2 separate regions of the Homo sapiens genome follow, and region 2 is linked to region 1. The links are contacts of gene promoters, found by promoter capture Hi-C in blood cells and fetal thymus (Javierre and others, 2016). All regions are on one chromosome and are shown on one strand. Each heading gives the region's core, a stretch centred on a gene start or on the middle of the fragment in contact. The rest is flanking DNA. Distances are from core to core; before and after follow the strand shown.

The links. Contacts are between HindIII fragments. The CHiCAGO score rates a contact against its expected background, and 5 or more counts as called.
Region 2: a contact is called between a fragment that was not itself captured here and the fragment with the promoter of MRPL23 in region 1, in 1 of 17 cell types (monocytes). The highest score is 5.9, in monocytes.

What each region holds. Positions count from the first base shown.
Region 1 is chr11:1,944,867-1,949,635 of GRCh38, reverse strand. It overlaps MRPL23 (mitochondrial ribosomal protein L23), which reads right to left and starts at 2,304. Exons shown (of 5, transcript NM_021134.4): 1 at 2,257-2,304. The coding sequence starts at 2,273. SNORD131 (small nucleolar RNA, C/D box 131) reads right to left here and starts at 305; the gene lies at 160-305. RefSeq lists an enhancer at 1-375. The HindIII fragment of the contact is 42,193 bases long and covers 1-4,769 here.
Region 2 is chr11:1,704,276-1,709,044 of GRCh38, reverse strand. No RefSeq gene overlaps it. Among named protein-coding and RNA genes, the nearest start is that of KRTAP5-6, 9.5 kb to the right of the region's middle. The HindIII fragment of the contact is 2,657 bases long and covers 918-3,574 here.

The DNA.
Region 1 (4,769 bases), core at 1,055-3,554:
GCCCCAGGCTTCACATGAATTTCACGCTGGCCTCTGCCTGTCTAGGGAAGATGAGGAGGAAGTGAGGGTCAGAGGCCTTGGGTGGGGTGTTCCTGAAGGGCCAACAGTGGTAGGCAGCACTGAGCCTCTGGGCCTGAGGGCCTGGCAGGGGCCAGGAGCTGCTGGGACCTCTCAGAGGCAAGGCGCCTGTAACAAAGCCCGATCACTAATCATGTCCACCCCAGGCCTCCTGATGACCACACTGACACATGGCAGCCTGGTGGCCGGGCCAGTGGGGCTGAGTCTTCACTCACCCAACCCCAGCAGAGCCTCCTCTTGGGCATGGCCTTGGCCTTTCCAAGCCTCAGAGTGCAGCCTTCAGGGGTGGGCCCCAGTGAGAGGCCGAGAAGAAAGGGTGGGCTCTGGAGGTGGAGGGGCCTGACTTGTTTTACCCACAGGTTCAGGCTAGCCATGGCCACCCGAGGGGCTCACACATTCCCTCTGGTGACCAGCTGTGGGACTGCAGGAGTGGAGACAAAGTTTGGGGACTCCCAGTAAACAGTAGAAAAGAGGGTTCAACAGCTCCCAGGCCATTAATTTTCGAGTCTCCAGGCTTGGGGCCTGAAGGGCACACTTTGCTAAGGGTCTGAAGGGCCATGTGTGGGCTTGAGATGAGAGGCTGGCAGGGGTTGGGCCAGGACGATTCACTGTCCTTGTTCCCACAGGCCGAGCCTCTCCAGGCTGGAGCGCCAGCTGCCTGTGCATGGAGCCTGCAGATCTGGAACAATCTGCACTGTCGACACCCAGGGCCCCAGGACAGGGCTCTAAGGCCTCTCTTTTGTTCTCGAACCCTTGTGGGCCCACCAGCCCTCAGTTCCCTCAGTCCCACTCTCCCCAGGGAGCACCCCAAGCACTCCGCATGGGATTTCACAAGCACCTCCACGGTAACCTATCTCAAGTAGAACTCTGCACTAACTTCTTCCTCAAAACACAAAAACCTGGCTCACTGCCACCAGCCTGCCTCCCCACGGCCCCACGAGTGACTCACCCAGGATCCCACCCTCTCGGCACCCCCACCCCAGCTGCATCCAGTCCACAGCAAGTCCAGTCAGCGCTCCCTGCAAAGGCTCCCTGGCAACAGGAGTGTGTGCACTGCTGGGCGAGCGGGCCCCGCTGCCTCCAAGGCAACCACACCTGATCCGTTTCCAGGGGCCCACCACCCTTGGCCCTTCAGGAACACCCCACCCGGGTCCTCTGACCCTCACTTCCTCCTCATTCTCCAGGGACAGGCGAAGGGCCAGCGTGGAATTCACGTGAGGCTCAGGGCAGTGTTGGCCTCACTCAGACCTTTTCTTCCTTGGTGCTGGGTGTTCCCCAAGGTCAGGGCCACGCGCAGCACCGGTCCCAGGTGTCTGCTGAAGGAAGCCTCCTCCACTGGGGGTCCCACCTGCCACCCTCCCCTCTCTCCCCAGCTATGTGCAGGGGCCTCCAAAGCCACACCCTGGCCCCTTGACCGTCCCTCTCCAGAAACACTGATTACTGTTCTCCAAAACCCACCCGGGAGCCCACATCTACTGATTACGCCTGAGTCATTCGTTCACCAAGAAATATGCAGGGCTTCCTGCTTCAATTTGGGGAGGGCGAAGTGGTGCAGGACAGCGCCCCGATGGCCCCCTGGGAATCCAGAGAACATGCAGAGTGGGCGTGGGGGGTCTGGGCTGAGCAGAACCGGGCCTCCCGCCCTGCCTGCCCCAAAGCCCTGAGGGCTGCGGTCAGCTGCCCTTTCCCACTCAAACCCAATCTGGATTCCCAGCTCCTCTGCCTCAGGCCGCGCCCGCGCTGCGGTGGGGGCCGCCCGGGCCTCCCCGCCTGGACCCAACAGCCGACGTGGCCCCCGCCCCGTGACGATCAGAAACGTCTCCAAACAGCTCCCTCGGCCCTGGCTGCGGGACCAGCCCCGGGCCTGACCCCGGGCCACCCTCCCACTCCCCACGCGGGGGCACCGTGGCCTCCATGGGTTTGGCTCGGACCCTCTGTCCCCAGCCCGGCCACGCCCGCCCCCTGGGGTTGCCCTAAACCTGGCGGGGGGCTCCTCCGCCACCCGCCTCGCGTGTCTCAAGGCATGACAGGGGGTCCCGGAGAACCCTGCCTCGCCCGGGCCAGGAGGCGGCCCAGGGACGCCCACCCCGCTCCCCGGAGTCCGCGCGCCCTGTGGGGTCCGTCTGCTTGTGACACTAAGGGGCGCCCCGCGACGGGGGGGTGACGACCCCTACTCACACCACATTCCGCGCCATGGCGGCCACGCGCGCTTCCGGGGTCCGCGAGGCGGAAGGAGCAGCGCGCCCGCCCCGCACGGCCGCCGCCTGGCACAGCGCCCCCTCGCTTCCGGAGGCCGCGCCGCCCCCCCCGCACGCGCCAGCGCCCGTGCCGCGCGCCCGTGCCGTCCCCAGCCCTGCGCCCGCCCCGCCCCGCGCCGCCTTCTTCTCCCTCCCTGCCCCCCTCCTGTCCCGCACCCCACGTTCCTCCCCGCCCCGACCCCCACTCCCCGCGCCGCAGACTCCACAGGACGCGGGGCCGCAGCAGTCCCGCCCCGCACTCCCGGCCCCACAGCCTGAAGCCCGGGCCCGCGCCCCTGCTGCTCGCGCCCCGCCCACGCCCGCACCCCTCCCAGCCCCAGAGACCTCCCGCCGCCGTCGCACTCTTTCGGGCCTGTCTGCCCTGCCTCCCGGGACCCCGGCCTGCACGCCCCCCACACCCGTGCCCCTGCCCTTTGGCAGCTCCAGGCCACAGCCTGGCCCCGCACCGCTGCGCTTGCAGCTGCTGGGAGCTGGAAGTGGAGAACCGGGGCTGTAGTGCTGGGGAGGGCGGGTCCCCGGGCCTGGGGTCTGAAGCCCCTCTCTCCATCTGGCTGTTTTTACCCGGGAGCCCGGAACCCCAGGGCCCCTCACCTCGCCCTTCTGGCCAGCCCGGTTGGCAGCCCCCACGCTGGCCACACCAGCCACGCTGTCCATCCTCGGTGCTCCCACCACGCCTCCTCCAAGAGGGCCACTGGCCTCTTCAGGCCTTGCCGTTTGCTCACCCCCTCTCCACCCTTCTGGCCAGCCCCCTCCAGCCTCTGGCAAGGCCCTCTCTACAGGGACCCCCGTCCAAGGCCCAGTCCTCACTCCTTTCCTTGGGTAGTGCTGGCCAGGAGGGCTGCTGGGACCCTTCGGGAGTAGAGGGCAGCAGCCTCCCTCCCCTGTCCCCAGGCCTCTCCCTCCTCCCCTGGTTTCCTCTGCCTGGTGGCTGGATTCAGGCCACTTCTCCATCTATCTCTTTAACTGCCCGTGCCCCCCACCCCCAAGCCTGGCTTGTTCCCGCACCCAACAGCACCCTAAGTGTTCTTCAGAGCAAGAGGCAGGGGTGTCATGCTTCAGAGCAAGAAGCGGGGCCATGGGTCCTGGTTGTTGCTGGGGGCAGGGGGCCCAGGCCTGCAGGTGGGAACAGGGCTGCGGGAGGGCACTGGGGTTGATGGAAATTCAGGAGGAGGAGAGGGCACTGTGCCCCTCCGAGGGCCTGGGCCGGGTAGGGCTGGAGTTCCTCCTGATGGGTGGGTTTGAGTGGAAATGACTCCAGGGGGTCTATCTAGCATGAAGGCATTGAAGCAGGATGGAGTGAGAAGTGGGCCAGAGTGGGCAGGGAAGGTGGTGGCAGCCGTCCCCACTGTTGTCCAGGCCTGCGTGAGGTGGAGAAGCTCCAGGCTGCCAGTGGCAGGGTCCCAGGAGGCTGGTGACCAGACAGGCCTTTGCCCAGCAGCAGGTGCCCTTGGCCAGGCCCAAGGAGCAGACCGCAGGACAGGGATGGAGCTGGAGAAGGGGGGTCCTGGGGCCGGGGGTCCTCAGGCTTCCTTTTATGTTCATGCAATGCTGCCTCTTTCGGCAGCCACATTGTGCAGTGTGCTTAGAGATATGTGGCTGCTGGAAGTTGGGTTCAGAGTTGTGGGTGGCCGATGTGGAGAGGAGGGTGATTGGAGGCCGAGCTGTGGGTCACGGGTGGGTGCTGCTCAGATCACTGGGGCTGCTGGAGGGCGGCGGTTGAGCTAGGAGCTGAGGTCCTTCCTCAGGGCGAGGCAGGGGTGGGGTCACAATGGAGCAGACCCCTCACCACTCCTTCCATCCCTGTTTCTCTGATAGTCTGCTAATGGGATCCTCCGGAAGGCATGCTAAGTATGGGGGGTCTCTGAGATGCCTGGGGAGCCAGTGGAGACCTCCTCTTCCTCCTTCCCACCTGCCATTGAACACAAATGCCAGCGCGGCTTCCGCTCTGCCTGCCTCTCCTGAGATCAATGGTCTGCACGGGGTTGAGGCTGCCAGATAAATACAGGCCCAGTTAAATCTGAAGTTCAGATAAACAACTAATAAATTGTCATTTTATTTTTATTTGTTTATTTATTTGAGACAGAGTCTCACTCTCACTCTGTCGCCAGGCTGGAGTGCAGTGGCGCGATCTTGGCTCACTGCAATCTCTGCCTCCCGGGTTCAAGCAATTCTCCTGCCTCAGCCTCCTGAGTAGCTGGGATTACAGGCGTGCGCCACCATACCCGGCTAATTTTTGTATTTTTAATAGAGACAGGGTTTCACCATGTTAGCCAGGATGGTCTCCATCTCCTGACCTCGTGATCCGCCCACTTTGGCCTCCCAAAATGCTGGGATTATAGGCGTGAGCCACTATGCCTGGCCCTTATTTTATTTTATTGTATTTTATTTTTTATTTTTTGAGACAGGGTCACGTGTAGCCCAGGCTGGAGTGCA
Region 2 (4,769 bases), core at 997-3,496, 240 kb after region 1:
CCTGGCTTCAAGTAGTTCTCTCCCACGCATGTGCCATTCAGTGCCCTGCTGAGGACTGAAGAGGGGACCCTCCGCATGTCTCCCAGCTCCCTGTGCAGCGCTCCACTCTCCGATGCTCTGCCCTGTGACCTCGGGCTGCCTTGGTCTTCACAAATGCTCAACTCAAGGAATACACTGAGCTTCCCCGGGGTCTCCTCTCCCTGCGCCATGACCTGGAAACACTCTGAGGGCTGAAACCTGGGGCCACTGAAGGGCTCACGTCCCAGGGCTCACCTCCCAGTCCTTTCTTGTCTGTTGTCTACCTCTTGAGAATAATGTGTTTGTCTTGGTTTTGTTGTTGTTGTTTTACATTTACAATTGTATATTTATTCTCTGTTGCTCTATCTTGACCCAAAGCAGAAGTATCCTAATTCTTTTTTTAATATATTAATCTTTTTATTTTGAGATTATTTTAGGTTTGCATGCAGTTGTAAGAAATAATAGAATATCATGAACCCTTTATCCAGTTCCCTCAATGGTAACTCCTTGCAAAACTACGGAACAATATCACAATCAGAATATTGGCATCGATATTTTCAAAACACAGACCACATTCATCACTGCCGGAACCCTGGGCGATAAACCCTAGGAGACACTAATTGGTTATCCATTTCTATAAAGTTTTCATTTCAAGGATGTTATGTAACTGAAATAAAACAGCATGTAACCTTTTGAATTGGCTTTTTATTTTTCATTCAGCATGATTCTCTGGAGATTAGCAGGCTGTGGTATGTATCAATAGTTCATTCCTTTTTCTTGCTAAACATATTCCATAAGCTGAACGAGCCCCAACTTATTTAACTGTTCGCCCATTGAAGGACGCCTGGATTTTCAGTGTGGGGCTATTATGAATAGCCCAAAGCAATTGTGTGAAAGCTTTTAGGTGAAAGCTGCAATGACTGGAATACTGCAGTAAAGTCTGTTTCCCCTGAGAAGTAGTGGGCAGGTCCACCTTGATATGATGGGGGTGTGGGAAGGCTCTCTTCGTCTCTTTCCCTGACCAAACCCAGCTGCTAAATTCGTCATTGCAAGCTGGTTGCTCGATTGTTTTTGACATCACCCTAGGGAATAAATTGCTTCACAGACTAATCCAATCAAATTCTGACTCCTTTGAAAGGAAAGGCCAGTGCTTGAGATTTCTTACTAACCCAGAAAGTCTCTTCCCAGCTCTCTCTTTCTCCATTTCTCTCCAGAAAACTAGCCATCTTAGAGTTAGGCTACGTCTCTAAAGAATCTATCAATCTTCTCCCAGTTGCCCTTCACCACAACCGCCACTGACTCTGAGAGCACCCTTAGGTTTGAACTTCATACTCTGTTGCAAATGAAGTCAGTTCCTTTTGGGAGAGACTAGGAGATCCTCTGTTCTACATCCTGCCATTCTCCCTGGACAAAATCTCTAAGCCACAGCTCTGGAACTGACGGCAGGGATCTTGGCTCACTGGTGTCATGCCTACTTTAGAAGCTGGACACTTGAGTGATGGGCAGCAGCTCCAGGTGTCCTCAGCTTGCCTCTCTCAGCATGAACCCCTCCCATAAGCTGGAGCAAAGGTGACCAGAGACCCGAGACCCAGGATTCTCAGCATGATGAACCCAGGGCAGCCTTTGCTGCATGAGTGAGACCTGAGGCTGAGTAGAGGAAGGGACCCTCACCTCTCGGACACACTCACTCAGAATTCAGCCTGAGACACAGGTAGCTGGGGGCAGGATGCTAGCACACTGACCCTCACAGGAAGAGAGCCTCACCAACTGGAAGTGAAACTACCTTTTGACAGCGAGAGAGGTCTAGCATGGCTGACTCCATCTTGCTTCTGGCTCATAGGCTGGTTGTCCTTGCTTATTCCTGGACTCAGGCCAAGCTAACTGATGCAGGATTTTTTCTCAGCCTCTTTGCTGGACTCACAGCAGAGGCTCCTCATCTACTTGGCCCAGCATGCTCAGCCCCTTGCGGGAGGGAGTGCATGAGCGAGCAAGTGTGGGATCTGGCCAGCCACTCTGAACGCTGACACGGGAGCAAACTCCACGTGGGGCCCACAGCCAGACCAGGTGTGTCACCTCGAGGAGAACATGGCAGTGCCCAGACAAGGGTGCCCGCAACCCCGAAGCCCCAGAGGGGGTGTTAGTGCTCTAATCAGCTCTTATAGTTCCACCATCCACATCCCAATGGAGGGCAATGTGTTAGCAGCTCGGTCGGCCCCTGGCCTCATCGCGTGGGGCAGCTGCCCTCTGCTGGCGAGGGCAAAGGGCCCGGGTGACATCCTTTCTAGGTACCTGCACTCTGTGGGTCCTGAGCTCTTGTCCAGCGTCCAAGAAGAATGAGGTCATGCTGGTGATTGAAGGATGGTGAAAGTGGAGACTTTTACTGAGCAATGAAAACAGCTCTCAGCAGAGAGGGGAACTGGAAAGGGGACAGGGAGGGCAGGTCGTCTTCCCCAAAGTCAGGAGATCTCTTCCTTGAAGTCAGGCCTTCTCTCTCTCTCTACCAACTGAGTCTGGAGTCTTTATAGGCCCAGGACGGGGGCAGGCCAGGCCATAGGTAGTATTGGAAAAGGCAGTATTTGATTGGTTAAAAAGGCATTATTCAAAATGAACCAATCCGGAGCGAGCAGGCAAACAAGAATAGAAGTTTTCACTCTGGGCTGCAGGTTTCAGGATGTTTTGGCTTGAAGGTGAGGTTTCACTGGGGACCCACCCCCATCTGCCTGGGATTTGTCTGCCTCCTGCCTCTATTATATCCATGGGAGGAATTTAGTTTATAGTTTAACTTGTAAGCAAGGATGATAACGGTCCCGCCCTAAAACAAATCCCCTCCTTTTTGGGGAGCTGAAACTGCCTTTATAGGACTAATGAAAGACCACAAGATTAGAATTACAGGAGGGCATGAGTTCTGCTAAAATATAGGCATAGTTTCTATAATCCCCCTCTGCTTAGGAGTCATTTGTCCAGAGATCACAAGATTTGTGGCTTCCCCAGTTGCTCCTATAGATAATATCACTGTGGTAGAATTAAGATTGGTCTTTTGAGGTGGTTTTCCAACTGACCCCATGCAGACTCGTGACTCACGACTTGTTTAACCGTTCACCCGTTGAAGGATGTCTGGGTTGCTTTCACTTTGGGGTTGTTATCCACCCAGAGGCAGATTCAGGGCACAAGGACCATTTTCCACACCCCTGTGATTGCCCCCGCAACCAATGAGGAGCACCCATTCCCCAGCCCCCCACCCACCACACTGTCCTGGAAAAACCCTAACCTTCAAGCCTTCAGGGAGACGGGTTTGAGTGATCATTCCAGTTCTTCCACCTGGCAGGCCTTGCGTTAATTAAACATTTCATTTACTGCAATACCATGTTCTCAGAGTGAACTGGTTTTGTCTGTGCAGCGGGCGGGAAGAGCCTGTCGGGCAATTACAGAAACTGGAGGAGAGATAGTCTTGCATTCCTGGCTGTACAGCCTGGAGTGGAGCTTCTGTCTCACTGGGCTGGGAGAGGGCACACGCATTGGCTCAGATACCACAGACTCACACAGTTCTCACTAAGCTTTAGTCGATTTTCTTGAATAAATGTTTCTCTATTTGAAATGGCTACAGGGCCATTTGCAGATGCTTTAAATGGTTGTTGGGGGTGGGGTTTCGTTTGTTTTTGTTTTTAAAGTCTTCACCAGTTTCACATGGAAGTGGATCTCTGGAGTTCCCCCTCATTGTCACGCTGCAGTGGGACTGCCCTGTGACTTTATTATTTCATAGCATTTGAACATAAGATAATCACAAGCTTTCAAAGGACTAAATGTTCGATGAAGAAAATGGCACAGAAAAAAAAAATGTCCCTTCTAAATAAGGACTCACTTGGTCCTCCACCAGCAACCAGGAGCACTGCCAAGTGTGTCTCTCTCCTTATGACGTGACCTTTTATCTTTAAAGGACACTGAATTTCACTCACATTATTATTTCTTACACAGTGTGTTTTTATTATTCAAGGTCACTAAGACTTTCTCCTGTTTTATTCCAAATGTTTTATTGTTTTATATTCAACATTTAGGTCTATGATGGGCATAGAGTTAATTTTATATAAAGTATGAGGTTGAGGTTGAGGTTTTGTTTTCGTTTTGTCTACGGCGGTTCAATTGTTCCAATGCCATTTTTTGGAAACGGTTCTCCTTTCGCGCGCTGGTATGAATGCGTTCCCCAAAATTCATGCGCTGTAACTTAACCCCTGTTATGGTGTTACTAAGAGGTGGGGTCTCTTGAGAAGTGATCAAGTCAGGGCTTTGCTCTCAGGCATAGATTAGTGCCTCATTAAAGGGCTGGGGGGGATGAGCTTGGGTCCTTTTTGCCCCTTATGTTTTCCACCAAAAGGACACAGCAAAGAGCCTCCACCAGATGCAGAATACTGGCACCTTGATCTGGGGACGTCTAGCCTCCAAAACTGTGAGAAATGTACTTCTATTGTTTGTAAAATACCCAGTCACAGGTATTTTGTGATTGCAGCAGACACTTCTCCATTTAGTTGTCTTGCCCCTTTGTCATAAATTAGCGCAGTCTTGTGTGTGCGAGTGACATCTCAACTCCGTGCTTTTCCCTTGATCTGTGTGTCTACCCCTCTGCCCATACCACACTGTCTACATTGCTGTCGCTTTATGGAATGTCTCAAAGTCAGCTAATGTCATTCTTCCAACTATATTTCTTGTTTCAAAATTGTTTTGGCTATTCTATTTTCTTTTCTTTTTTAAATGTTTTC